Regions from separate parts of the Homo sapiens genome. Here all the other regions are linked to region 1. The links are contacts of gene promoters, found by promoter capture Hi-C in blood cells and fetal thymus (Javierre and others, 2016). All regions are on one chromosome and are shown on one strand. The core of a region is centred on a gene start or on the middle of the fragment in contact, and the rest is flanking DNA. Distances in the headings are between cores, read along the strand shown.

The links. The method cuts DNA at HindIII sites, captures the fragments that hold promoters and counts their contacts. A CHiCAGO score of 5 or more calls a contact.
Region 2: a contact is called between a fragment that was not itself captured here and the fragment with the promoter of PYGB in region 1, in 1 of 17 cell types (total B cells). The highest score is 12.6, in total B cells.
Region 3: a contact is called between a fragment that was not itself captured here and the fragment with the promoter of PYGB in region 1, in 1 of 17 cell types (total B cells). The highest score is 5.4, in total B cells.
Region 4: a fragment that was not itself captured here is called in contact with the fragment with the promoter of PYGB in region 1 in 1 of 17 cell types (M0 macrophages); the score reaches 7.2 in M0 macrophages.
Region 5: the fragment with the promoter of CST5 here is called in contact with the fragment with the promoter of PYGB in region 1 in 4 of 17 cell types (fetal thymus, activated CD4 T cells, total CD4 T cells and 1 more); the score reaches 9.6 in fetal thymus.
Region 6: a contact is called between a fragment that was not itself captured here and the fragment with the promoter of PYGB in region 1, in 4 of 17 cell types (naive CD4 T cells, naive CD8 T cells, total CD8 T cells and 1 more). The highest score is 8.1, in naive CD4 T cells.
Region 7: a fragment that was not itself captured here is called in contact with the fragment with the promoter of PYGB in region 1 in 1 of 17 cell types (naive CD4 T cells); the score reaches 6.7 in naive CD4 T cells.

The regions. Positions count from the first base shown.
Region 1 is chr20:25,246,072-25,250,031 of GRCh38, forward strand. It overlaps PYGB (glycogen phosphorylase B), which reads left to right and starts at 2,014. Exons shown (of 20, transcript NM_002862.4): 1 at 2,014-2,350. The coding sequence starts at 2,108. RefSeq lists silencers at 1,046-1,299, 1,318-1,397, 1,578-1,767, 1,778-1,967, 2,278-2,657 and an enhancer at 2,048-2,127. The HindIII fragment of the contact is 3,937 bases long and covers 570-3,960 here.
Region 2 is chr20:23,371,647-23,375,606 of GRCh38, forward strand. GZF1 (GDNF inducible zinc finger protein 1) reads left to right here. Exons shown (of 6, transcript NM_022482.5): 6 at 1-1,416. It overlaps NAPB (NSF attachment protein beta), which reads right to left. Exons shown (of 11, transcript NM_022080.3): 11 at 2,876-3,960. Among named protein-coding and RNA genes, the nearest start is that of GZF1, 11 kb to the left of the region's middle. The HindIII fragment of the contact is 157 bases long and covers 1,945-2,101 here.
Region 3 is chr20:23,406,726-23,410,685 of GRCh38, forward strand. The region is part of intron 1 of NAPB (NSF attachment protein beta); the gene reads right to left. Among named protein-coding and RNA genes, the nearest start is that of NAPB, 13 kb to the right of the region's middle. RefSeq lists enhancers at 1,423-1,482, 1,623-1,682. The HindIII fragment of the contact is 1,648 bases long and covers 990-2,637 here.
Region 4 is chr20:23,649,801-23,653,760 of GRCh38, forward strand. No RefSeq gene overlaps it. Among named protein-coding and RNA genes, the nearest start is that of CST3, 14 kb to the left of the region's middle. The HindIII fragment of the contact is 1,823 bases long and covers 738-2,560 here.
Region 5 is chr20:23,877,492-23,881,451 of GRCh38, forward strand. CST5 (cystatin D) reads right to left here and starts at 2,257. Exons shown (of 3, transcript NM_001900.5): 1 at 1,955-2,257; 2 at 14-127. The coding sequence starts at 2,185. RefSeq lists an enhancer at 1,750-2,579. The HindIII fragment of the contact is 1,186 bases long and covers 1,326-2,511 here.
Region 6 is chr20:24,022,034-24,025,993 of GRCh38, forward strand. No RefSeq gene overlaps it. Among named protein-coding and RNA genes, the nearest start is that of GGTLC1, 35 kb to the left of the region's middle. The HindIII fragment of the contact is 3,336 bases long and covers 589-3,924 here.
Region 7 is chr20:24,039,352-24,043,311 of GRCh38, forward strand. No RefSeq gene overlaps it. Among named protein-coding and RNA genes, the nearest start is that of GGTLC1, 53 kb to the left of the region's middle. The HindIII fragment of the contact is 7,127 bases long and covers 1-3,960 here.

The DNA of each region.
Region 1 (3,960 bases), core at 764-3,263:
TTCAGAAATAACCAGTGTTTAGGTTTGGATATACACCTGTGTTTCTAACACAGTAGTCCCTAGCCACATGTGGTTATTTAATTTAAATTTAAATTGACTAAATGAAAGTAATATTCAAATCATTACTGTCATTTCTGCATTACATCCTTATTTTTGTGTTTCATTTATCAGTATTGTGTCATCAATCACACCTTCCTAGCTAGCTATTAAAACAGTCATTCCTTTTAGCAGCACAATGGTTTATGATATTAACTTTGAGCACAGATACATTTTTCTGGGCTTGTGCAGTGGAGCAGGGCTTGGCTGGGGTGAACCTTGGCTGTTTCCCTTATTAGCTGTGTGGGCTTAGGGAAGAGTTAACTTCTCTGTGGCTCACCTTCTCCATTGTCAAGCGGGGGTAATAGCAGGCTATTTGCAGGGATCAGGAGTTAATACGTGTACACTGCAAGTAATGATCAATAAGTGTCAGCGCCTCCATTCTTTGCCAGGTGTGCACCACAGCTGGGGGATTAAACTTTACCACACCACAGCAGATAACATATTTGCATAACTTGCTTTTTGTCTTCTTAAGCTTTCCTTGAACTCAATTCCCCAGAGTGGTAGAAGTGGTCATAGGGCACTATCATTTTTATGACTTCTGAATTGCCAGATCACCCTCAGAGAGATTGCATCAGTGTTCGGAGCTTGCAGCCAAGCTCGACCCCACAGCCCTGCCATCTGTGCCCGAAGTTCGATCTTGTTGGCTCCAGAATCCCTAGGACATAGTGCAGGAGTGAATCCCGAGCTGGAGCTGGGTGGGCTGTGGGGTCATTCCAGATTGATTAACCTCCGACCTCTGAAGTCTGCAGCTGGAAGGGGCTCCAGGTAAGAAGATAACTTTGAAGCATCACACCAGGAAACCTACTGCACCTGGACTTTCATGACATTTCCTGCGGGCAATTTTTACCTCCACGAAATTCAGTAACCTTTGCAGCCCCTTCAGCCCAAGACCACCAGGAGCAAACCTGTGGTCCACAAAATCGGGTGTACTGACCCACTGCAATGAGGGAGCGCCTCCCAAGAACGAAGGGAAAGGCAGAGTTTGAAGGGGTTGAGGGAAGGCAGAGTTTAGGTGACCTTTACATGAAGCAGGGTTCCCACAGGCTGAGGCCAGCAGGACTGTGTTCCGCGGGGCCAAGTGTGGGAAGCTGTGTGCAGACGCCCCCTATCTGGAGCTGCAGCCTGGATTGGGATGACAGAGGCTAAGTCTCGGTTAGTGGCTGAGCTCCCCGGCCAGACGGGCATGTTTCCTTCTCCCTGCTGTAATCTCAAAGCGGACAGCGTCTGCCAGGTGGTTTCGGGAACAGGGTTTCTCCGAGGGCTAGGGGGCTGCGGTCCCTCCGAGGCGGGGTCGTGGTGGCATTTGGCTGTGGCTGCCTCGCGCCCTCGGGAACGGGCGTCTCCAGCTCGCTGGCAGCTGGTTTTCTCCACGTCTGTCATCGGCCTGGAGTGGCAAGCAAATAGCTGGTATTTTCAGAGCCGCCCTGCCCCGGACAGAGAAGACCGGGCCCAGCAGGCGTTGGTGGATGCCTTTCAAGCTGTAATCAGTTTCCCCGAACGTGTACCAGGTCTCGGCCACAGCCCGAGCCCAGCGCGCTCCCGCGGGGCACCTGGTGACCCGGTGCAGGGCGGGAGGGCCGGTCCCAGGAACCCGAGGGCCGGAGGGCAGGGCCCCCTTCCCGCACCGTCCCCGGGCTGGCAGGAGCGGCCACGACGGCACGCTCCGAGGCCCCGGGTCCCTTGCCCCCTCCAGTCGCTCCCACTTTCTGCCGGGCTTGCCCAACGAGGGGGCAAACACCACGCTCAGGTGGCGTGGACAGGTCGCTGCCGCCTCGGACTACACCAGAGATCTCAGCTATGAGCCTGGACGCCCGCCCCGCCCTCCCGAGGCCCCGCCCCGCCCCCCGAGGCCCCGCCCCGGCGCGGCGCGCAGGCGCGGTCCATCCCGCCCGCAGAGCCGCAGTGCCGGGCGCCAGAGCAGCGGCGCCAGAGCAGCTGCACCATCCCGGCGTTCGCGTGTGCCGCCGCTTTCCTCCTCCATCTCTTTTCCTCCGCCTCCGCCGGCGCGATGGCGAAGCCGCTGACGGACAGCGAGAAGCGGAAGCAGATCAGCGTGCGCGGCCTGGCGGGGCTAGGCGACGTGGCCGAGGTGCGGAAGAGCTTCAACCGGCACTTGCACTTCACGCTGGTCAAGGACCGCAATGTGGCCACGCCCCGCGACTACTTCTTCGCGCTGGCGCACACGGTGCGCGACCACCTCGTGGGCCGCTGGATCCGCACGCAGCAGCACTACTACGAGCGCGACCCCAAGGTGAGGCGCTGCCCCGCCCTGTGCGCCCGTGCCCGCTGAGAGGGCGCCGGTCCCGGAGCCGCGCCAGCGGGGGTCTCTGCGGGGCGGCCCGTCGGGCGTTACCTGCGCCCCTAGCCGGCCGGCGGCCAGGCACAGCCGACTGGGGAGTCGCCTGGAAGCCGCAGTCGGCGGGGCCCGGGCGTCCCCTGCGCAGGGCCGCGGCCACGGGTCCGCCCCACTGGGAGCCCGCGCCTGGCGGGGTCCGCCGTCCCCCGCAGATGATGCTGAGCCCGGGAGCCTGGCGGACGTTCCCGGTCTCTTTCTGGCCGTGCGCTTCCGCGCTGGCTGCAGAGCCGGTGCTCCCCGCCCCTGCCTCCAGCCACTCTTTGTTTTCCTGCAGCAGCCTGTGGGAGAAAATGGGACTGGAACCAGGCCTGGGCAGCCTTGTGGGTTGGAATGGGGTGAGCTCGGTAATCTGCAGGGAATTGTGAGACTTTTTTTTGTGTACGCTGCTTAGAAGAAAATCACTGAAGATGCCTGCTTCACGCAGGGAGGGGTACGAAGCTCAGAGATGGAGATGGAGCCCTCGAAGAAGGCTCTGTCTTAGAGGTTCCCACACCTCCCTTGGAGAAATTTGCTTGGGTTGAAGTTGACAGAGATCATCTTACTAATTGTTACTTTTTATATCTTGCAAAAATTTGTTTGAGTAGTGAAACAAAGTCACTGATTGTCCCCGTTACTCTTAACCATGTTTACTATGGGCCTGTGTTCTTGCTGTGTTTTTGGTATTCCTAAATATACATACACATTTTTAAAAAGTATAATGCACATACAGTTTTTTAGATTTTCTGTTTCATTCGTAAACATTTGTAACTTTTTCACTGATAAACAGCTTTGCAGGTCAATGGATAGGATGGTAGTTTTCAGTTTGATAGGTACATGGTAGTCTTGCACAGCCCCCTGTTGCCAGTTTTTTGTTGTTGTCGTTTGCTTTTAAACTCTTGACCATGGAGAATTGTCTTTCTACTACACTAACGTAGAGGGAGAACTGGTGAGGAAAAGACACACTTCCAGACCTGAAGCCACTTGGCAAAGATTTTACTTGCAGTGTACATCTAGGCAGTGAGCACTTGCTTTATGGATGGTATTTTAGAATATTTTTGTAGGGCATTAAGATATGTTTAATACGGTAATTGCTAAGAGATTGACTGCTTTTCCAAACTTATTCTGGGACATTCTTTTTTCTAAAATGGAGATGGTAAAAGGGACAGATTTGTTAGAATACCAACTGGGGCTCTTCATATTTGGTATGCAAAACATAGAAGTGGCAACGAATGGCCAAAACAGGTTATAACAAGGGCTTGGGATGACTTTGCCAGGAAAAGCAGCCAAGAAGCAGTGGCTCCCCCAGAATTCCCTGCTGTTGGGAGAGTTCTGATGCACAGCACCATTTTTTTTTTTTTTTTAATTCTGAGTCTTGCCCTGTAGCGTGAAGCTAGAGTGCAGTGGCGCGATCTCGGCTCAGTGCAACCTCCGCCTCCCGGGTTCAAGCAATTCTCCTGCCTTAGCCTCCCAAGTAGCTGGGATTACAGGCGCCTACCACCACGCCCGGCTAATTTTTTGTATCTTTA
Region 2 (3,960 bases), core at 773-3,272, 1.9 Mb before region 1:
GGTTCTAGGGCCTTGAGTATGTGCCACGTGCTTGTGAAATGCTATGATTCACATGTAACATTTAAACATTAATTTAAAAAGGGAACCTTGGAGAATTCTTTTGTTCACTAGTTCCTTTTTTCTCTACATTTTTAATTTATTAAACTTGCTGTGAAAACACTTTGATTTTCTAAGAGGAAGGTACTTTAAGTTCCAGAATGAACATGTAGCTGCACTATGCCAGAAATTAATGAGGGAAGACTTTCTTCCTAAGTGCTTATGTTTTAACTTATGTTAGTGAAACCACTACAAGGTGTTTCAGGCGCTGATAACATGCTTCACACCTGCCCTTGGAGGTCACAGTACTAATTTACTTCAAATTTAGTTATGACAGTGTCACTGTATCCTAGTTATGTTTACAGCACAAATAAATAATGACTGTCATACATCCAGAGGAGACCGAACCTGCCCAGCTGATGTACTGTTTTATGGAATAAAGTCACTTGATCAGAAGGAATTGAAACAATAGATCATTTTGTTACCTACTGGAGGGATTTTTGTCTTGAATTTGTTTCCTTAGAAATTCTACAAAAAAATGTTGTTAATAAATGTCTGCTTTGTAAAAGCAGTTTTGCAATTTTTTAAAGATCTATTTCTGTTATAATTTAGGTTCTGCAGAAATATGATTCTTAATTGAAACATATAATTTGCTTAATTACGTGAATAATGAAATGTAAAATCCGGGTCCATAAGCCTTTATTTCATACAGTCCTAGGATTAAGCTGTTTAACTGCTTGGATCCCAGTTGGTCTCTGGCAGTGGGATCCTGGAGAGGAGAAATCCTGGCCTCTGCTCATGCGCAGGCCACAACCGGGCTGGAAGTGCGGTTGAGCTCTCTGCCACTTTCTTCAATGTAAAAAGTAGGCATCAAAGATACGACTTCTACTATATACATTTCTCTGTCCCTGAGAACAGAGAAACGTAACCCTGTAGGGGACTGGTTACAGAGGACCTCCTGGAGCATCTGCCCCATTCCTCCAAGTCCAAGCACAGCCATGCTGAGTGGAAGCGAGGCCACCATCTGAGTGGATTGGTCCCAAGTGTGTAATGAGGAAAGTGGCCAGGTGCCGGCACAGTGCCTCTCCCAGAGCCTCAAGAAGGGCCATTTAGGAGCTTGCTTCAACCATTTTCCAACCATTTTCTGTGAAATGCTGTCAGCCCAAACTCCAAAGGGATGTGCAGCCTTTCGTTTTACCAAATTCTTTGCTGTCGTTTGGAAAAAATGGGCCATGTGGTGGAGACCTTTATTTAAGGTGATTTTTACAGAAATGTGATTTTGCTGTAGGTGATTATCCAAACAAGTAAATTTGAGTGTATAATTTAATTTTTAACCTGTTAAATAAACCTTGTCCCTCCAAGGAGTTCATTTTTGGGAAACAAGATGGGTACTTGTCAATTTAACCAAATGTCATGATATTCATGTACTCAGGAGTAACAATATTTCATTTGATGTGACTGAGAAAGGCACACAGGTCAGAGGATCATCTAGCACAGCAGTCCCCAACCTTTTTGGCACCAGGGACCACTTTTGTGGAAGACAATTTTCCCACAGGTGGGGGGACAGAATGGTTTCAGGATGATTCAAGCGCATTGCATTTATTGTGCACTTTCTATTATTATTGCATTGTAATATACAATGAAGTAATTATACAATGCACCATAATGTATAGTGGGAGCCCTGAGCTTGTTTTCCTGCAACTTGACAGTCCCATCTGGGGGTGATGGAAGACAGCAACAGATCATTAGGCATTAGATTCTCATAAAAAGCGTACAACCTAGATCCCGTGCACGCGCAGTTCAATAGGGTTTGCACTCCTATGAGACTCTAATGACACTGCTGATCTGACAGGGTGCACAGCTCAGGTGGTAATGTGAGCCACGGGGAGTGACTGCAAATACAGATGAAGCTTCACTGCCTGCAGCTCACCTCCTGCCGTAAGGCCCAGTTTCTAACGGGTTGGGGACCCCTGATCTATCACATCATGCTAAATGAGACTCAGAAAATCATCTGCATACCTTTGGCAATCCGTACGTGGACTCTTAACTAAGGCTGACAAAACTAAGCTTTTAAACTACCATGGTGGCATCTTCATTAGGAAATTGATTCTGAGAAGAGCCACTTGATTTAGGCTTTGAATGATCAACAACTCAGAATGCCTAGATGAGGACAGCTTGTTCTACCATTTAAAACATTTTGCTTTGACTTACCTGAAGTGTTGTGAATATACTTTAGGACCTGAAATCAAGGCTCTATGATAGGATGGTAGGATGAGCCGGTCTGCACTACCCGCCATGGGTCCTCTTCCTCATCAGAACTTCAGGCCCCAGTGGTCAGTGGGACTGACCCTTCCCCAGGGGCATCTCCTCTCCCTGTGCAGATATTTTGCAAAATTAAAATAAATGCCCACACTGACCAGATAGTTGAGTGGTACTTTCTTGGGGTAGGAGAGTGTCAGGCTTAGGGGTGCCTCACCTCCCCACCAGTCTTCCAGCAACCATGCCTTCCTCAACTTTGCAAGTAACTGTAGACCCTAAAGGATTCAAGGAAGGGATGAGAATGTGGGGTCTGCAGGGTTATCATGTACTTTAGTGGACTGCATCAACAGAAGTTACCAGGGTTTCCTTCTAAACCCTCAGTCTGCAAAACCATTACGGTGCCCTGGAATTCCCAACAAATGACCGGAGCCTAGAGAGTATTAACGTCTGTTGCCTTAATCTTAACGGGAACAACTTGAAACAATGGAAGCTACTTTTGACCTATGCCAATTTAGCAACAAGACTCATCAAAATATTACTGATAATTTCCACTTTATAGGTTAAAATAAAACAAGCATACTTTTTCTGCTAAGGTAGATTTATTGTTACACATGGTTAGTTTTCATAACGTAATCCCCTGCCCCAGAGCAACTCAGGACTCCATGGAGCAGGAAGCCTGCTCTTGGTCATAGCTCATACCACAGCAGGCAGGTCACGGGGGCATGCTGTGCTGCCAAGTCCTCCAAAGGAAGTCACAAAGGTTTGCATTTGGACATTTAAATCCACAAAATCAGGAGAAACAATAAATGCACAAGGGCTGGTGCATATACTTTGGTTACAGTGACGCCACCACACACGGTCACGACTGTGCAAAAATACTGCTTTCAAATCATTAAATAAAAAAGAACTCACACAAGCTATAAAAATGTTGCCACAAAAAGCAAAACTTTCCTCTAAGAAATATTAACTGACTTTGACTATGAACTAACTCCAGATTTGCTAAAGTACAAGAATTGTACCATAAATAATTATATTTTGTTCATAAGTAACATTCTATAAATCTTGAAGACCTAGCTCACAGGCATCTTGAAACATGGCACTGTCCTACATCCATGGGACATTTAAAGGAAGTAAGTTTGCACACCACTAACTGGGCTTTTCTCTCATTCTTTTTTTTAATCTTCTGGCAGGTCTCTTCTAGCCATTACAATTACTTTGATTCTTTTCATGTGAAATATTAAAAACAAAAATTAATTCTTAACCCCGGAACTGGTCCCAGTGTTTATTGCAATACAAACAAGTGACCCTCTAATTGACACAACAAAATGTTACAAACATTATTGTTAAAAAAAAATACCCCTTCAGACGGGTCTGTTGGAGTATAATGATGAAAGCTAAACATAATTGCCCGAAAATAAATCATGTAGTTTTTACTTTAAGTGGTCAGACCAGAAGATTCTTTAAACAAGTAGAAACAAACTACTTAAAACCAGAGGACTCAAGCTGCAGAACCACTCCTCACACCCCATTTTCACAAAAGTGCATTTGGCTGGTTGTAGGATATATTATTAGGTGGGGAAACAAAACCCCACTTTTCTCTCTGATCATTTTTTCATAAGAGATTCTAAGAGGGAGTGAAAAAGTACCAACTGGACTCCATTCCAG
Region 3 (3,960 bases), core at 564-3,063, 1.8 Mb before region 1:
GCGTAAAGTCTTGCTACTTTCTTGGGTCTTGTTTTTCTAAAGAGTACTGGGAATCTTGAACTGTAATTATAGTTCAATCATTCTTATTAAAGGTTTCTAAATAAAACTAGCTTAATTAAAATGTACTTTATCCACTTATTTTCAGAGACAGGATACAGCTAGAATTAACAGAGTTCCTACATTATTCCAGGTTTTATGCTAGATATTTCCATATATGTTATGTCATTTTCATTATTACAACCATGAAAGACACTATCTCTATTTTACTGAAGAGAAAATGGCATCTAGAGGACAATGGCTTATCCAAGGCTACCCAGCCAAGGTCAGTAGTGTACCTGACACTTGACTTCAAGTTCAGTGACCTTTGAACTTTGCTAAACCATGAGATCCTCATGTCTCCTGAAACAGAATTGCCAGAGGTAGCCTCACTTTAAAAACCCATTTGTCATAAACTGACCATAACTTTAAAACTTCCTGAAAAAAGGTACTTTTGAAATTACACCGGATGCTTATTTTGTTTTATGTGAAAGTTAATTTTTTGTAAATTTTATGGACAAGTATTCAGAATTTGCATTCAAAGTAACAACTGTTATCCAGAGGTCTCACAGTGAGGCAGAAGATCCTTGGAAAAAATATTCTGTGGGGAATCCATATTACGCAGCAACATAAGTTAAACACTTAGCACTCAATTGACATTAAGAAGCTAAACTGAGCTAAATTAACTATTTTTTTGTATTACAGGAATCTGACTTGGAAGAAGAAAACATTTTCCCCACCGTGAAAGAAAACACTGCCCAGCTAGCACAAAAACCACTGCCACCTGGCTGGCCCAGGTGAACCACCCTTGCATTCCAGAGGCAAGGCAGACTCTCTTCTTCTTGACCGTACTTATTCAGGAAATATTTACTGAGATCCATATGTGCCAGAAAACACTAAGGAAATAAACTTCTTGCCCACAAGGAGGTCACGACACTGAGGAAAGAATATCAAGCTTCACGGCCAGAAGGGTCTGAGAAAAAGCCTATCAATTCCCCATGTTCCCCTGAGGAAACATTGTCAAAGCCACAAATGTCCCACCAGGAGCCAGTGAACAGCAGAGCTGTGAAAACCAATTCATCTTCAAATAATCTAAAATCTTGATTTCCCCCATCCTGAATAATAACTATTGCAGAGCATTGTAAAACTATGACAACTATAGTCCGTACTATTTTAAAACTGTGGGTGGGAGGAAGGAGACATCGTAGAATTGTGAGAACTAATGACACACACATCATGAGATGTACCTCAAAGAAAAAGGCTGACAACTCCTGAGATAGAAATAAAGTTGCCTCTAAAATCACAAGATATTAGAGTAGAAATACCACAAAAAGTGACAGTGACAGTACTATGAAGATAAGCATGTAGAACCAGAGGCAAAATTCAGCTCTAACATCAGGATGCCATGAAGGGGTGTGTCAAGCCACCCCAAAAGACTGAAAAGGGACTTGCCCAGTGTGGGGAGCCTGGGGGGATCCCCACAAAGCATGGTACCTCCTTCTTCTCATTATTTACCAGCAGTATCTCCTTAGCCACTAGACTGATGCTCTGGGGAAGAGGAAGCAGCACAGGGCCTAGCACACAGGCCACAATAACAAGGCTGATGCTTAGTGTCTGGATGGAACAAACTGTCCACATTCATTTTTTAAGGTTTCCCATGTATGCCTCAAAATAATAAGCAAATGTAGAAAGAATCCAGAAGAGAGGAAAATTCAAAATCTGTCTGAACGTGCCTCTGCCATACACAACTACTCTGTGATATTATAGGCTCTATAAACAATTTATTTCCACCTGATGCTTCACTTCTGGAAACTCCACAGATTCTAAAAACTTGGGGCTTTCCTAGGTAAACTTAACCCTTCCAAGATTACTTTATTTCAGTGCTTAATATATTTTAAAACAGTACAAATCTTTTATGTGATGCAAAAGTAGAGATTTCTTCCGTGGAGGAGATGCAGAGGCCCCAGAAGGACACAAAACAACTGGAAGAGATATTTTTACATGTTCTCAACACAAAGAAATGATAAATGTATGAGGTGATGAGTATGCTAACTATCCTGATTTGATCATTATACAACACAGACGTATATCAAAAAATCAAACTGTACCCCATCAATATATGCAATACAATGTGTCAATTAAAAACTATTTTTTTAAAAAGGTAGGAGGGAGATACTCTCCAGAATGCTAATTTGAATTCTTACAGCAAAAGGCAGCATTTAAATGTTTCACTGTTCTTTTATAAATCGGTAATGCAGAAGCCCAAGGTATGGTGGAAAGGCCCAGGGCATGGGCTTGAGTCAGACCACCTACAAATGAACAGTATCATTTATTTACCAGCCTCCAGTTCCCTGGAGCAGCCAGGCCTGTCTTGGCCTTGGAGAGAAAGAAAAATTCCACCAAGCCAGCTAGCACTGTACCAGTAAGGGGAGCGCTGTCTCAGTGGCCTTGAGCTTTTGGAATCAATTTTCTAAGAACTTTTCAGTTTACTTCTGCTTAATTAAGGACAAAAATCATAGATTCTCAAACAGAGAAAATAATCAGAGACATTTAAGGCCTGTGACCAAAGTATTTGTGTTTAAGCACAATTTCCTGAAATAAAGCTTATGAGAACAAGTATAACAAAGAAAACTAGTTAGACTTTATTTTGACAATAGTTTTCTAATGCCTCAACTTTATATGGGGAGTAGTCATCTTTATAGAGAAGAAATAGGTATACACTGGACCTATTTATAAAACAAAACAAACATATTTAAATACTTAAGAAAGATAATGGTAACTGCTAGATTAATTCAGAAATGACTGTTACATACAACCTGATTTACCAAGAGCAGTTTTTAAATTGAATTTCAGTCTTTATAAAAATTTAAGCTGAATTTCAGTCTTCAGAAAATACTGATGAGACATGTGATTCCCAAAAAATCATGGTGGCTGCTTAGATAAATATATCCACACATCCTCCAAAAACCTTATAGATCAACAAAAAGCATACACAACCACCCATAATCCGTGCCTACAGCAAAAGGAGGCAGTATTCAGCAAGCCTCCATTAAATATAATTTAGGAAATAAAAAATCCAAAACTACCAGAGCTAGCAACACTGCCTCTGCTGCCAGTCAGAGGGGCGTCTGTCGACAGGAGAGGGGAGTTTAACCTGGCAATCATTGTCCAGGGAAGAACTCTCAGCAAGGAAGTGCCCTACCAGGGTGGGCAAACACCCCAGACCAGGTGGAAGACCTGGCAGGTTAGAGCACTGCAGTTGGGAACTGAATAGAAGGGCTTTGCCACAGGCTGCAGTTTCCAGAAGACACTGCTTCTGGGAGAAGGCAACTTAGAAGGTGGGGGCAGCTCTATGGAGGTTTGGCAGTGAAAGGAAAGAAGGCAAGTGATGGAAATACGTTCTTGAAACAAAAGAGTATCACAGAATTAGAAGTCACACAAACCTACCCCTCCACAGCACCATTCATTAAAGAAACCGCACTTAACTGTACCTACACAACGCAGCATTTAAACTAAGAAACCCATGAAGTCACACAAACCGCTCATCTCCTATCACAGAAACACATGCTATTGTGTGTCCAAGAAACTCTGTGACTCTCTACACTAAACAGAAAGGAGAAACAGCATCCATATGAAGCTACTACATAAGAAAGAAGATCCTAAGTGAATTAATGCAGGAACAGAAAACCAAATACCGCATGTTTTCACTTATAAGTGGTAGCTAAACACTGGATACCCATGGGCATAAAAATGGCAACCGTAGACACTGGGGACACTAGCGGGGTATGGGGAGAGAAACAGTTGAAAAACTATTGGGTACTATGCTCAGTATCTGGGTGACAGGATCATCTGTACCCTAAACCTCAGTATCACACAATATACCCAGTTAACAAACCTGCATATGTACCCCCTGACTCTAAAATA
Region 4 (3,960 bases), core at 399-2,898, 1.6 Mb before region 1:
TAGGCAACTTCATCAATGATCTTAGCTAGATCTTCTGGATAGCTTGCTGCAGCTTCTACATCAGCACTTGCTGCTTCACCTTGCACTTTTACGTTATGGAGATGGCTTCCTTTCTTAAATGTCATAAGCCAATCTCTGCTAGCTTCAAACTTCTGCAGCTTTATAACCTCTTCCAGCCTTCATAGAAGAGAGTTAGGTTCTTGTTCTAAATTAGGCTTTGGCTAAAGGGAATGCTGTGGTTGGTTTGATCTTCTATTCAGACCATTCATACTTTCTCCATATCAGCAATAAGGTTATTTCACTTTTTTTTGAGACAGGGTCTTGTTTTGTCACCCAGGCTGGAGTGCAGTGATGCAATCATAGTTCACTGCAACCTTGAACTTCTGAGCTCAATCCTATTGCTTTAGCTTCATGGGTTGCTGGGACTACAGATGCACATCACTGCATCTGGCTAATTGTTTTTATTTTTTGTAGAGACAAAGTCTCACTTTGTTGTCCAGCCTGGTCTTGAACTCCTGGGCTTAAGTGATCCTCCTGCCTCAGCCTCCCAAAGTGCTGGGATTACAGGTGTGAGCCATTGCACCAGGCCTATTTCACTTTCTTGCTATTTGCAGGTTCACTGGAGTAACGTCTTTAATTGCTTTCAAGAATTTTTGCTTTTTATTCATAACTAGGCTCTTTGGCACAAGAGACATAGCTTTTGGCCTGTCTTGGCTTTCAACATGCCTTCCTTGCAAAGCTTAAATCAGTTCTAGATTTTCGTTTAAAGTGAGAGATGGTGGAAGAGATGGTGCAACTCTTCCTTTCACTTAAACACTTAGAGGCCAATGTAGGGTTATGAATTGGCCTATTTTTTTTTCTTTCTTTCTTTTTTTCTTTTTTTTCCAGAGATGGAGTCTCACTCTGTCACCCAGGCTGGAGTGCAATGGCTTGATCTCCACTCCTGCAACCTCTGCCTCCCAGGCACAAGAAATTCTCCTGTCTCAGCCTCCCAAGCAACTGGAATTACAGGTGTGTGCCACCACGCCAGGCTAATTTTTGTATTTTTAATAGAGATGTGGTTTCACCATGTTGGCCAGGCTGGTGTTGAACTCCTGACCTCAAGTGATCTGCCCGCCTTGGCCTCCCAAAGTGCTATGATTAAAGGCATGAACCACTGTGCCCAGCCTAATTGGCCCAATTTTAATATTGTTGTGTCTCAGGGAATAGAGAGGCCCGAGGAGAGGGAGAGAGATGGGAGAATGGTTGGTTAGTGGAGCAGTCAGCACACATAGATTAAGTTTGCAGTCTTATGTGGGTGCTGCTCATGGCACCCCAAAACAATTACAATAGTAACATCAAACATCATTGATCACAGATCATCATAGCAGATATAATCATGATAAAAATGTTTGAAATATTGTGAGAATTACAAAGGTGTAACACAGACACATAAAGTGAGTACATGCTCTTGGAAAAATGGTGCCAATAGACTTGCTCCTCTCTGGGTTGCCACAAACTTCCAATTTGTAAAAAATGCAATGTCAGCAAAGGATAATAAAATGAAATATGCCAGTATATCTCTTAATATATCTCTCTTACGAGGTCTGTAAGTTGGTATATGGTATTAATTTAAGATTAATACCATATACCAACTTACAGACCTCGTAAGAGAGAGGTTGAACCCTGAGTGATACACATCCATATGCCAACTTTAGCATTTGCTTCTCTCTATTTTATATATACATACATATATTATAAATATTTTTACATATATATATATACATATATATACACACACACACATATACGTATTAGAGGGTAAGTTGTAGATATTATGGCTTTTTACCCCTAAATACTTCTGCCTAAGAAAGAAGTTCTAGCTTGGTGCAGTGGCTCACGCCTGTAATCCCAGTACATTGGGAGGCCAAGGTGGATGGATCACCTGAGGTCAGGGGTTCAAGACCAGCCTGGCCAACAAGGTGAAACCCCATTTCTACTAAAAATACAAAAAATTAGCCAGGTGTAGTGGCAGGCACCTGTAATCCCAGCTACTCAGGAGGCTGAGGCAGGATAATCGCTTGAACCCAGGAGGCAGAGTTTGCAGTGAGCCGAGATCGAGCCATTGCACTCCAGCCTGGGCAACAAAGAGCGAAACTCCACCCCGCCCCCCCCCCAAAAAAAAAAGAATAAAAAAGAAAGAAGTTCTTCTGAAGAAAAGGCTTTTTGGTACTTGTTGTCACGTAATTATCAGATTTAGGAGATTTAACACCAATACACAATTATCTAATAGTAGTTCTTTTAAAAATTTATCCAGTTATCCCCAAGATATCCATTCCAACATTTTCCCATCTGCTCCTGGATCAAATCCAGGATCTCACTTTGCATTTTGTATCATGTTGCTTTAATGAACGTGCATGGGAACAACAGTTGTCCTGTTTTTGTCCTCCATGTCATTGACAATTTTTGAGGAATACAGAACAGTTGTTTTTATAATAATATTTTACATAATTTATAACCTTATAAATTTGAGTCTTTTTGTTTCTTGATGATTAGACTTGAGGCCAACTCTTTTGACAGAAGCTTTGCCTGGGTGAGGCTGTGTCCTCCTCAGTGCATCACATCAGGAGGCCCAGGATGTGAGTTTGTCCTGTTACTGGTGACTTGATGTTGATTATTATTTAAGGCAGTGTCTGCAGGTTTCTCCATAAGTTTCTCCATACTTATTGTTAATAAGTGACCTATGGGGAGATGCTTGGAGACATTATAAAATACCCTGTGCACCAGTCACTCCCCCCAGTGGTTTTAGTGTCTACTGATGACTCCATTCAAGTATGTTATTGTTCTGTGGTTGCTTCCAGGCTTTTAAATGTGTTCTTTGATTCAGCCTGCAGCAGGCTGTTAGGGAAGGCTCTTCCTTCCTAACACAGAGTCCCAAAACACTGGGCTTCAAGGGAGGTGGTGGTATATCCCTGTCTACAAAATATTTTGTGCACTTCCTTTTTCCTGAGCAAGATATAAGGTATTCTGGGCATGTTTTGTTAGGACACCTCTTTTTAAGACCTGAAGGTCTTATGGAAAATGGCAGCCTTCCGTTTTAGCTGTCAAAGTCTACAGGCTTTAACTGTGCTGGCTGGTGGCTGGAAGTGGGTCCAGGCAACAGTTCAAAGTCAGAAGCCTGAGATCTGTGTCCTTCAGAGGGCTGGTGGCAGCTTGTGCCTGGGCATCTCAGCCCTGGAGGGGAGTCAGGAAGGAGCCCCTGAAGGGGCGAGCCAGTAGCTGACTCTGGGCCAGTCCAAGGCCCCCACACACGACCCAGGCCCAGGCCCTGCCTCCCTATGGTGACCATGCTGCTGAGCTGAACTCCAAGGGCTGCTGCTCCTCCAGCACTATGGTGAGGGAGAACTTGATCTTTTTTGAGATGGAGTCTCACTGTGCTGCCCAGACTGGAGTGCCATGGGGTGATCTCAACTCACTGCAACCTTCCAGGTTCAAGTGATTCTCCTACCTCAGCCTCCTAAGTAGCTGGGACAACAGGTGCTTGCCACCACACCCGACTAATTTTTGTATTTTAGAGACAGGGTTTCACCATGTTGGCCAGGCTGGTCTCGAACTCCTCACTTCAGGATTTGATCTTCTTAGGCACTGTGGGCCTCTCCTCCCTCTACTTTCCCTTTGGCCCTCACCCATTCTCTGCCATCTGTGCTCTCTTATTCTGCAGTGGTGGCCACCCTTCCTCCACTCTGTGGCCCCGGGACCCTCTCCTTCCTCCCCTCCAGTGTCAGATCAAGGGAGGCCACATGGAGACTGCCCATGGCTGACCATGCCCTAGAGGGTCTCACCCCAGTCACAGAGCAGACTCCTGTGGGGAGCTATGCCAGGCACCTCCCCCAGGGTTTCTGCTTTAACTCCTTGCGGGGAGGCCCAGGCATTCATCGCTTTCAACCTGCACAGGTGATTCTAGAGTCAGACAGGAAGTTG
Region 5 (3,960 bases), core at 1,007-3,506, 1.4 Mb before region 1:
ATCAGGCACATACCTCTTTCAGTTTTGGCTGGTCATTGAAGGGACAGTTGTCCAAGTTGGGCTGGGACTTGGTGCATGTGGTTCGACCGAACTTCACATTGAAGTAGTAGTTCACCCCACCCACGATCTACACGCGTGGAAGAGCAGGAAGCAGGGGCAGCATGCTGTCAGTTTCATGCACACGCAGGCACTTCACTGTGACTGAGTCACTGGGCTTGCCTGGGGCTTCATGCCCACACTGTCACCCAAAAGGCACACAAGCCACCTTCTCCTGCTGGCTGGCAGTGGTAGTGTGTCCCAGTCCTTCCTAGTAACTTGTTTTCTCTGGGTATCTCAAGCAAGCTGTCTCATGCAGCCCAGTAGAAAGAGAAGCAGGGGCAGGGCAGATGGAAGCCAGGGCCTAAAACCCCCTTCACTGGATTCAGGAACAGAAGGCACAGCTCTGGGGAACCAGCCAGGGTGGGACAAAGAAACAGTCCTGGCACCAGGCTTGCAGGGCAGGGTCTAAGCACCAAGTGAATGCTCTTTCCCACAGCAAAGGATTAACTGAATTCTGCTACCTGTGCTCAGGGGGCAGGGACACTGGTCCCATCCTAGGAAGGCTGCCACCTGATGATGAAATTTCAGCTAACTTCCAGCTCCTGGCATTCAGTCCACAGAGCATCTCATTCCTGCCATTTAACCCAGAGGTATTTTTCCTCATTTCTCAGTAGGAGATGAGATGCTCACATACATTGATGTTTTAGGCCAATAAACATTGCCTCCTGCATGCCTCCATTCCAGGTGTGATTTTCAAGGCAATATTTCTAAAGTGAGTCACACACCTGCATGTCTTAGGGTTGCAACTTCAGAAGAGAACTGAATGCTTTCCCTGCACAGTGCCGCCCCAAAACATGACTTGTCAGAACTGTGGAGAAGCATGGGATGAGGGACCCTGGGACCAGGGTGCTAGACCTTGCCCTGTGGAACCACACACAAGTCCTGTAGAACCACATGGAAGTCCTGTGATCCCTCCGGTGTCAGTCTGCTGCTCTGTAAAATAGGCTCCAGGGCCCAACGATCTACATCATTCTGTGCTTCACTCCCAGTGAGTGACACACTTAAGAGGGAGTGCAGGCCAGCAGGGACCACAGCACCAGGGAATGCCCCTCCTGTGCAGGGAGAGGGCTGCAGGAGGAGAAACAGGGCTGGTCTGGACTCCTCTGACTTTCCAAGAGAAGGTGGAGGAGCTCTAAAGGCTGGCAGGCCATATAGCCCTGTGGTCGCTGTGTCACTGCTGCTCTGCCATGGGACGTAGGTCAAGCTGGGCTCGGTAGCCCTGCTGAAGCTTCCTCCCTCTGGACCCAACCACCTCCTTCACTCTGCTGGGTGATTGCTGTCCTCATTTTGCTGAGGTCTAACTCTGCGTTAGCTGGCAGAGGCAGGGTCAGGCATGCTCTACCCCAGCAGGAACTCAGCTGTCCTGGGCTGTAGGGGGTGGTCAGCCAGCCTGAGAGTGAAGGCCACTAGCCATAACGGGCTGTGCCCAGGGGCGTGACTTGGGAGGGAAGCGGGGCTATCCAGGACAAGGAGTCAGGTTCCCGTGTGGCCCCTGTGGAGAGGACTCAGGGAGGAAGATGAACCTCGTGGCCTGGATCTCATCCTGAGCAGCATCAAGCCCACCCAGAGTCAGCACAGTCTCCATCCACACCTGCTGGACCCTGGGAAATGCCACAGTCATGGTACAGACACAGTGGCTGCTGCAGGTTAAAAGAGGCCGAGGGGACAGGACAGGGCTGAACTCATGCACTCACGGCCAAGGAGTGTCCTAGGGCATGAAGACCATCAGCAGACAGTCAGAGAAAGCTGAATGAGTCTGCGGTTTAGATAATGTTGATTTGCTGGGAGTGCTCTGGGGGGTGAGGCAAAAAACCCAGCTGGGACTCAGGACCCCCAGGGTGGTGGTAGCACGCACCTGCTGGTAGGCAGCCATCACCTGCAGAGGGCGGCTGTAGTACTCATCCTTATTAATGACCTTGTTGTACTCGCTGATGGCAAAGTCCAGGGCACACTGCACACTCTTGTCATTGAGGTCTGTGGCATGGATGCCACCTGCCAAGGTCCTAGATTGGGCCGAGGCACTCCCGGCCACGGCCACCATCAAGGCAGTCAGCAGCAGCAGTGGGGTGTGCATGGGCCACATCATGTTCTACTGGGACACAGAGCAAGGAGCTGGATCTCCCAGAGAGCAAAGCAGCAGAAGGCTGAGGCAGGAAGCCCAGGCCAGAAGCTAGCTGTGCATTTATCCTACTTGGGTGTCCCCCAACCCCACCTGCTCCCTGGCCCCGCCCCTGGCTCCTCCTCCTCTTTCTACCCCTCCTCTTCTGTCTCTATCTCCCTTTCCACCCCCAACCACCTCCCTCCCTCCCTAAGTTCCCTTCGCTCCTCCCATGCCTCCTCCTCATCCTCCTCCCCACTCCTGTCCTGACCGCAACCTCCCCACAGCCCTGCCCCTCTTCCTCAGTGCTCTAAAGCTTGGCTCACTCTGGATTCCAGAGAGGTGACACCGCTCCCTGGGCTGTGAAACCTGGTGACCACCTATGTCCACAGGAAAGGGAGAAATACAGGGCTTGGCCTTCTAAAGTCTTCAGATGTCAGGGGCATCCAGGAGCACGTGGTCATGGTCTGGGAATTCCTGGGGCAGGGAGCTGTTTCAGAAGCTCCGGGATGACCTTGTCCATGCCCTCTTCTGGGGAACTTCTTTGCCAAACATAAAGTAATTAACCTTTGGGTAAAGTTCACTGGGTTCTCGTTTCATAACTCCTCATTATTCAATAAACAAACCTGTCACCAGCTTCCCCCTGCACCAAGCAGTCTGGGCAATAGAGCCGTAGACATGAACTTGCAGAGCTGCCATCCAACAGAGATGTGACAGAAACCCAGGAGCAATTTAAAACACATTTGAAAAAGTTAAAAGATACAGCTGAAAGTAATTTTGGTATTTCTACTTTAACCTAATATATCCAAAATACTTCAACACTTCAGGACTATTCTTAAGGAGCTAGTTTACATTCTTTTGTGTGAGTGTAATGTCTTGAAGTTCCCTGTGTATTTTTTACAGTTAGACCAAGCGTCACTGTGGACTAGCCCCATTTCAAGTGCCCTGTGGCCACGAGTGGCTGCTGGTGGCTGTGGTACTGCATAGCCCAGCCATTAGGGTGTGTGGGAGGATGCAGAGTGGTGATCAACAATTTAGATCAGGGAATTATAGTCGCTCAGTTAGAGAGAGGGTGGGTGCTACTGGACCCTGGTCAGGGAAGTCTCTAAGAGACCGGAAAGGTTGAGAAGCCCCAGGCAGCAGGGAATAGTCAGTGCAAAGGCCCTGAGGCAAGGCTGGGCATGCCTGCTCCAGGAAGAGGAAGCTCCTGGAGGGGGTGTGAGCAGGGAAGGGAACGACCTGGAGTCTCACGGTAACTGTGGGTGTGTCCAGGTGGAAGGCGCAGGGAGACCCCTGGCAGGTGGTGGGGGTGTCAGGAGAAGGAGCAGCAGCCACAGGATGAATGTGGGAGCCCAAGAGCCTCTCTTGCTCCTCCCCTCTGGGAGACGTGCTGCCAGCACTGGTCCTCTGTACACTGCTTGGAAAACTCATGTAATATTTTAAAAATTACATTGAATGAGGTAGAATTTACACACAATAAAATGCCTAATTGTATGTGCCCAATCTGGGGGATTTCATAAATGCATACACTTGTGTTACCACTTTGTCCACACCTGTGATATCTGCCTCACCCCAGATGGTTTCCTCCTGCCTCTGAAGCCCACCCTCATGCCCACCCGACCCTGGCAGCCCACATCTGGTCCTGTGGACTCCTTTGTTGCCTGTCCTTGAGCTTCCCAGGAATGGAATCCTGCAGAGAGAGCCCAGGTGTGTCTTCGTCCTTTGCTCAGCGTGGCTTCATTGCCAGGATTGAGAGTTCTCCT
Region 6 (3,960 bases), core at 1,007-3,506, 1.2 Mb before region 1:
ATTTATTATGCTTCATGTGCCCCACTGTGCAAGGTGCATATCCCTAAAAACCGTGGGTTCTTAATGAATGTGTTTCCTGCTCCCAATAAGTTCATTCCAGTTTTTCTCCTGTGCAGTTTTATGCTGCACATAAAAATACATGAAGGGAGATTGCAGGATCCCTACTAGAGAAGCAGGGCCACTTGCAAATTGCAAGCAACTGAACTAACATGATGTAGAGGAAAGCTGATATCTGTCACTTGCATGAATGTGTACTCTGAACAAGGAAGGCAAAGGACATGGGGCAGGCATGGAGGAGAACAACCTTGAGGTGGGTCATCACAGCCACAGTGCCCCAAGTGCTCTGAGTTCCAGCTTGCAAGGCTGTCCTGGGAGGTGCCTGTTTCTACTTCATTTTCCCTTTATGACACCCCAAATAAATGGCACAGCCAGATGCACAAGAAACAAAAGACTTTTGAAGATTTACAGGATTTAAGATAAGGATCCTTGTATCAGGAAGCAATTGTATGAAAAAAATAGTTAAGAGCAAGGTTTCCAATTTATATGAACACTCAGATTTGTCCCACAGGTTATTAAAGCTGAACAACAAGCTTTTCATTCTGCTTGGAGGCCAAAAGCCGAAAAGCTATTAACTTGCATACATCTTGTGTGCTTCAAAATTGAAATTAGCTTCTTTAATTGCATCAGCATAAAACAAATATCTGTTCCTCAGAGGACCTGGTTTTAAAGGCAGCTTGAAATTAAGTGACCCCAAGGCCCACACAGATGTCATGACAGCAGCTATGAAAAGAGGTGATTTACTGTGTAATTGGGAGTGGTGCAGAAAAGTTGAAATAATGAGAGAATTGTTTTTCTTTGTGTTTTCTTCCTTATTCTCTGGATTTTATTTTCAGCAATTAAGTGCTGATTAGTTCCTCTACTGCCTGATGCTTTGAGACATGCATAACAATCAGCGAGCCTGCAAATTGAGTGGAAACCCCTAATTGCTTAGATAATGATCCCAACAGAAGCTGCTCCTCAGGAGAGGAACCGCTCATGATATTACCAGGCGGGGGCCTAGGTGTCCTCTTCTTCCTTTCTTCTCACCTGTCTCAGCACAGGCCAATTCCACCAGCAAAGGTGCCCAGCTCACCTGCTTGGTCCCCTGGAGAAATATTGAGGCCACAGGAAAATGGGGCCTGAAGACTGATACTCCCAGGAAGAAGCAAGACTGAGAGCAAGAAGGAGACAAGGGGACCAAGAGCAACAGGAGCAGAAAAAGAAAGAGGAAGAGGACGAGGGAGGGAGGAAGGAGAGAAGGGCAAGAAAGATGACTTATTTGTCCACAGTGCCAATGACAGGTGCACCTTCCATCTTTCCCCACTAGGCCGATTGTTAACTTGGCATCAAACCAAGAGTATTCTTAAATTTGCTATTTGAAAAATTCAATAATTATAATACAGATAACTTGCTTTTTTTGTAGTGTTTTTCTCTGAAATATTTGTGATGATATCTTATAATTTTGGTGCACAAGTTTCTTTCATTTGGGTTACCTCTTTGAGTCACCCCATAGACCTCAAGGAAGTCAAGGTTATGTAAGAAATGATACTAATGAGGGGTCCAGGCAATTCTTGTAGGGGCTGAGAGGTATTTGCTGACTATCTTTACATACCAAAACTTAGTGCCTTAAAACACCATTAATTCAGCTCATAATTTTTGCAGGTCAGGTGTTTAGGAAGGTCTAAGCAATTCTTGGTTGGATTTCTCATGCTTGTTGCAATCAGCCTTGGCTGGAGCTGCCCTCAGCTGAGACACTTGCGCTGGAGGTCCAAGAACTTGCTCAGCTGATGTCCCCCTCAGCCTCTCCAGCATGGGGACCTTAGAGGAGTTACATTTTTGATTGGGCATCCAGGTTCCCTTGGCATGACCATCCCAGGAGAACCAGGTAGAAAGTTTATGCCCTTTACCTGCTGATGGAAGTCACACAATGCCCTTCCATTCTGCCTGTCCTTGCAGTGACTCTTTATGGTCTGCCCAGATTCAAGCGGGAGGCTCATAGACCTCTCAATAAAGCACCAATAAACTGCTGCCGTATTTTATTATCGCAAGAGACATTTGCAATGCAGTGATTGAAGAAATATGGCCCCAGATGAGTCTTGTCCCAGGACTAGAATCTTAGGTGTCCTAGCAGTATTCCAGGACTGCTTCTGTGCCCAACAAGTGCTTCTTGGCTCTCTAGGCATAAAACACACAGGACACTCCATCATGGGACCTAGTGTACTGCATTATTAAATAGAATAAAAAATTAGCCATGAAAAGAGAGGGGAAGGGATTAATCACACTCCTATGCTTACATGCAGAACTGCCCCCACTCTGGCTGAGTTGCAGCAGAGATAACCACTGTGTCACAGCACTTGTGATACTGCTGTAATTTATTATTTATGGTACACAAGTAGCATGCATGCATCTTTTCAGATATCATGTGAGGTACTTTTAAAACATCACATAGCTGCAGGCACTAGGCCTGCATAAAAGTAAAGCAAAATTACCCTCACTGTCAACCCAGCTGTGGGGATGGCTCTTGACTTTTAGAAGTACAAAGGTGGAGCAGCTTCTCCTTCTCATTAATCATTCTGGGAAGCCGTCATACAAGCAGAAACTGTTGTTCTCATTTTTATTAGTTTTCCCTATAGGGATTCAGACCAGTGATGCTTATCACCTTCTTTCCAGGATGTGAAGGGTCAATGTGCCTATTTTCAGCTAGAGAGGGATTAGAGACGGAGGGAATTTGGTATTACTGCTACAGAATTAGATCTGATGGAGCCGGATAGTTACATGACTGTATCATGTTTGGGATCATAGAGCCTACCTATTAAGACATGTGAGAAGTAGAGTGGAAATAGGAATACTTTTATACAATAAGTAATAGTAAAATTCATAATGATTATCAATATAATATGCACATACGATAAATAAAAATAAAAAGGTACCCAGGTGCACCATGAAAACACAGCCTCTTGTGCACCCTTGTGCCTTCCCCCAGACTTGCAACTTGTTCTGCCTTCTGGTGGCTACCACCACAGCACTAACTAATGTGCCCATTACGCTTTTTCGTTCGTTCTAAAATAATTTTCAGACATCATCTGGTAAATTTCTGATTTAAAATTTAAAAAAATTAGCTCACCTAAATCATTTTATTCTCTCTTTTCCACCTCTTCCCAATTGTAGGCAGGCCTTCCATTAGTTACTGTGTAAATACAAGTAATATCATTAAATATAGATTTATGTTTCTATCAATTTATAAAGTATCTTTGGATTCATCTCTATTTCTGCACCCACTCCCAAACCTCTATCAATTGGATCTTTGTTAGGGAAGATAACATCTATTTTATATTCTGTACCATAGGTGATTTAAAAGTTCAAAACTAATAAACATACTCAATAAAATATGGCAAAGTAAGTGTGGTTTACCCCATAGCCAAGTACTGTGGTTGACTTACATTTCCTTCTCCAAGCCCAGAATCGTGGCCTGGGACAACACAGGCAGATATTTCTAGGAGAAAAATCAAGTTATACCCCCACTGCCCAGCAGACAACATCTTAGTTTGCTTCATATTTGAACCATAATGTTCTTGAAAATATTTTGCTTTGCCTGAAATTTCTAATTGCCTTTTGTTTCTTGAATCTTGTGCAGGTTCCACATTTTCCCAAATGTATGAGCCTCTAACCTAAGACATGTCCAAAAGTTCTTTACTTACAGGGACATGATCTAGGGGCTTAGAGGGCCCTGGAAAAGTAAGATAATATATTTTAAAGACCCAATTTTACACAAAAGAACAAAAAGAGGAAGAACTATAGCAGAATGCCACTGCTGTGGATTCAGACTTCACCTCCCTGCCCACGGAGATGATTGAAGGGGAAAAAGGACAGAACATGAAACTAACAAGCTTGAGGCCTTATCAGTGTCTATATTGGCAAATT
Region 7 (3,960 bases), core at 450-2,949, 1.2 Mb before region 1:
CAGGGTGGCAGCCCTGACACCCACAAGGATTGCCTGGGGCTGCAGCTCATTAGTGGTACCTTGAAAAAGCTGGAATCTGGGTGTCCCCAGGAGATCTTTCCCCGCCTGCTGGCTTCTTTCCATGGTGCTGTTTGCCTGCTGGCCCCTGGTGAGGGCCCTGCAGGGCGGGAAAATGGGGACTTCTTATTCCTTTCCACTCTGTGTGAATTGATTTTCCCAACTAAGCCCCAAGTTCCAGTAACTTACTGGGTTGTTGGAGTCACTGGCTATTTTAAACTATCATTTTCATCTGAAGCATTTCACTCTTTAGACTGACATTTAAATGCATGTTCAAATGTGGGCAGCCTTCCCTCAGAGCCCAGGCACTGGGCTGGACCCATGCATAGATGCTCCTCCTTTGCCCCCACGTGGAAACCACGAGACACACACTCCATGCCTGCTGAGGAGGTGAGGAAAACAACTCCAGAGAGTGTAAGAAGTGCATGTGCAGACACACACAGGACCGGGTCCCCTTGGTCCTAGGGGCTGTCCTAGAGGTGAAGTCTGCGCCCCTCTCCTCCCACCTCCTCCTGAGCACGTTGCTCCTCTGCAGCTTCTTGTGCTGAATGTGTCTCCCCTGCAGGCCTCTTAGCATGTGGCCTGAACTTGGGGTGCAATGGCTCTTCTCTCTCCTCATTGCCACTTCCACACCACTCTCCCTCCTTAAAATCCCAGCCCCGAGGCTCATGACGTGAGCCATACCACCTGCTGCCCCTCTTTAGACAGTTGGGTATAGACCCCTGTGGCCGTTTTCCTTTATTCCTTGGAGGTTTCAGCTTCCCTGACCATCCAGTCCTCCACATGGAAGACCACGCAGAGGCTCTGTCCAGTGCCCTAGCCTCGCAGCTCCTTCGCGCCTCCATAACAAAGCCTTGCCCTCCACTCACTGCAGCCACTCATGCTGCCCACCCCCGAGACCTTGTCATTAGCAAACAAAACAGGGAAACTTCTATCATCTGGATTCAAAGCAGCCCACATCCTTACCACCTCTTATCTTAACATAATTTAATAGTTGCAGAAAAAGTCCCCCACACCAAAATTTAAAAAAAATTAGTTGTACACATGCAGGGCAGGATAGATTTGGCTAAACAGAAATCTAAATGATATAAGCTGAAATAAGCAAAGGTTGTGTTAATGGAAATTTTCAGTATTGGAGCAAAGACAGAAATCCTGCTGTAGATGAACTGGGGAGGCCAGGTCATAGCACCATGCCCATTTTCTGGTAAGACTATTGAGGCGAATCCTCTTCAGGAATGTTGGAAGTGAAGACGTCCATGATACCTAGTGGGTGAGGTGAGTTGATCCTGGAGAAGTGAAGTCTCAGTGGCAATGTTGGTCCTGAGGCCACTGGCCATACTGTTAAAAAAATTTTGATTTATGACCAACTCATTTATCATAAAAACCTATTTTTTATGAGAAGTTTGTAACTTCAGAAAAAAGTCTAAAGATTTGGCAGTGTTAACTTCTTTTGCCCATGACTACCACAGGGGCCCCTTGGGTTCACTACAGGCCTCACCCTGTACCCTCCTCCACCTCTACCCAACCTACTCCTGTTTTCTCCTCATTCTACTCCAATTGAGTGTCCATGCCCTCCACTCAACCAAAACTGCCCATTTCAAGGTTACTATTGATGGCCACACTGCAAAATACAGAGCTGAATGCTCAGTTCTCACCTTACTTGAAGTTCCTGCAATGTTTTTGTTGTACTTGAGCCAACTAGCAATTATTACATGCAATTGCTCCCAGTGTGAGGAAGTCAATGGGAAGAGGTAACCAAGAAGTACAAAACACTTTTTGCAAACTAACCACACATTTATTCCCATTTAACAAGTTAATTAAGCAATTAATAGATAAAACAATTAGGGTGAATTCAGCAGTCAAGCCATTATGTGAGCTAGCTTCTTGCCTTGGAGCTAATTTCCTAGGTTAGAAGGGCAGCACTACCACCCCTGGGGATCTGTCCAGTTGGTCAGGCTCTCCTAAGGCCTCCAGCCTCCTGGCTACCCCCAGCCAACACGGAATTGACTTCTGGTGGATGATATCTTCATTCCATCTCCTCAAGGAAATCACACAGTGACAACTCCGTGCCCTCCAGAGAGGTTTCTGGAGACCAAAGCCTATCTTGGTATTTTGGTTGCAGACTGAGTTTTTGTATTAAATATTTGCTTCTTTGGGTTTTTTTTTGTTATTTGTTTTTTTTGTTTTTTTTTTTTTTTTTTTTTTTTACGTTTTTTATCCTTGCAGTGTCTCAGGGTGAAATGTTGGAATGATAGGCTATGCGTCTCCTCTTCCACACTCACAGCCAGCCTAAGAGCAAATTTAGAGCCTCGCCTTTCAGCACAGATCCGGATTCTGGCCACTCCTTAGAGCCTCCACCACCTCCACATGGATCCAGCAAGACCATCTTTTTTGGGGCGATGGCAAAGGCCTCCCTGCTGCTTTCTCCGCACCTCCCTTGCCACCCTCTTCTCCCAGCCATGCCAGTGTGGCCTTTTGTAATGTGAATTTTAGAGTTCACTCCCCTGTTCAAAACCCCATTCCAGGGTAAAAGCTAAAGTCCCCCCATCTGCTCCCACCCAGGGTGACTCTCCAACCCTCCTTCGCACCCCTTGCTCACTCTGTTTCAGCCATGCTGACCTCTCTGCTTCACAGCCTTTGCCCTTTGCCCTTTGCCCTCTTGGCTTCCTCTGCTGAGAACGTCCCCACCAGCCATCAGCCTGGCTCCTGTCCTTTCCACCTTCTTTCCACACACCCATCTCTTCCTTCCCATTTACCCCACTGGATTCTCCCATAGCACCCACTTTCTAGGCCCCATGCACTTTACTGAGTGATTTGTTATCTGTTGCCCCCACTGTAAAATCGGCTTCACAGGTGAGGGGATTTTTGTTTTTTTTCCCCCACTTCTGCATTCCCCAAGAAAGTAAGTGTCAGATACTGAGTAGGTGTTCCAAGGTGCCCGTTGAATGAATGAGGAATAAGCCTAGCTGTTTGGTGTGTTCCTTGTGAGCCTTCTCTTTGTGTTTGAACATGTTACCAAATCATGGCAAGGATAAAATCTGTGTCTTTTCAACACTGGTGTTCCCTTTCATATGTGATCATTCATCCCATAGAATTTGGTGTGGTCGATCACTGGTTTCCATGAAGTCTGTCCCAATACTAACAGCAAACACTGAATTCGCAAATGGTTTTCTACCAGCTGACTAGGAGAGGTATACTAAATATCTTACTAAATTTTAGCTTATTTGCTTTCAGTCATATGTAAAAGCCAAAGTAGTTTAAACCTAGTCAAACAAAATCCAACCTCTGGTCATGTTTTCTTCTACTAATTTCAATGTAGTGCTTGGTAATAATTAGACATATTAATTGAAGACTTTCAGGAGACATGATGGTTAAATTCCTGGTGTCCCGCAGAGCTGACCTAGCATAGCAATAGCTATTGTGGGTTTGACACAGAGTGTGGGTTTGGGGATAGAAACAATGTGTGGCTGCTGGCTTCATTTCCTTACTATTAATGGGCTGTGGCTGAACCTGGCATTTGTGGAGACAGTGGGCACAGGCTTTCTCCATGGCAGTCGCTATCACCAGGGCATTGTGGAGAGGCATGTCAGTTTCAGAGTCCTCTAAAGCCAGCTCAGGAGGGTGCACGAGGGGCAGGAGAAGGAGGGGCCCATGCTGCCATCACCATCACCCACCAAGTGACACAGATTCAGTGTCACTGCAGACAAGTGCCATGTATATGCAATTACATAAACAATGGGGGCACAGGGAGCTCCGGAGCCAGTGGTGGCTGCAGCTGAATGCACCACCCAACCTGCTGTGCTCTGGTGGGGCTTCTCTAAGGGGACCTCATTTGACGGCACCATCTCCCTCACTGGCACCCTATCAAGAGAGCACACCAGCTTCCATCACAGGTCTCTTGAT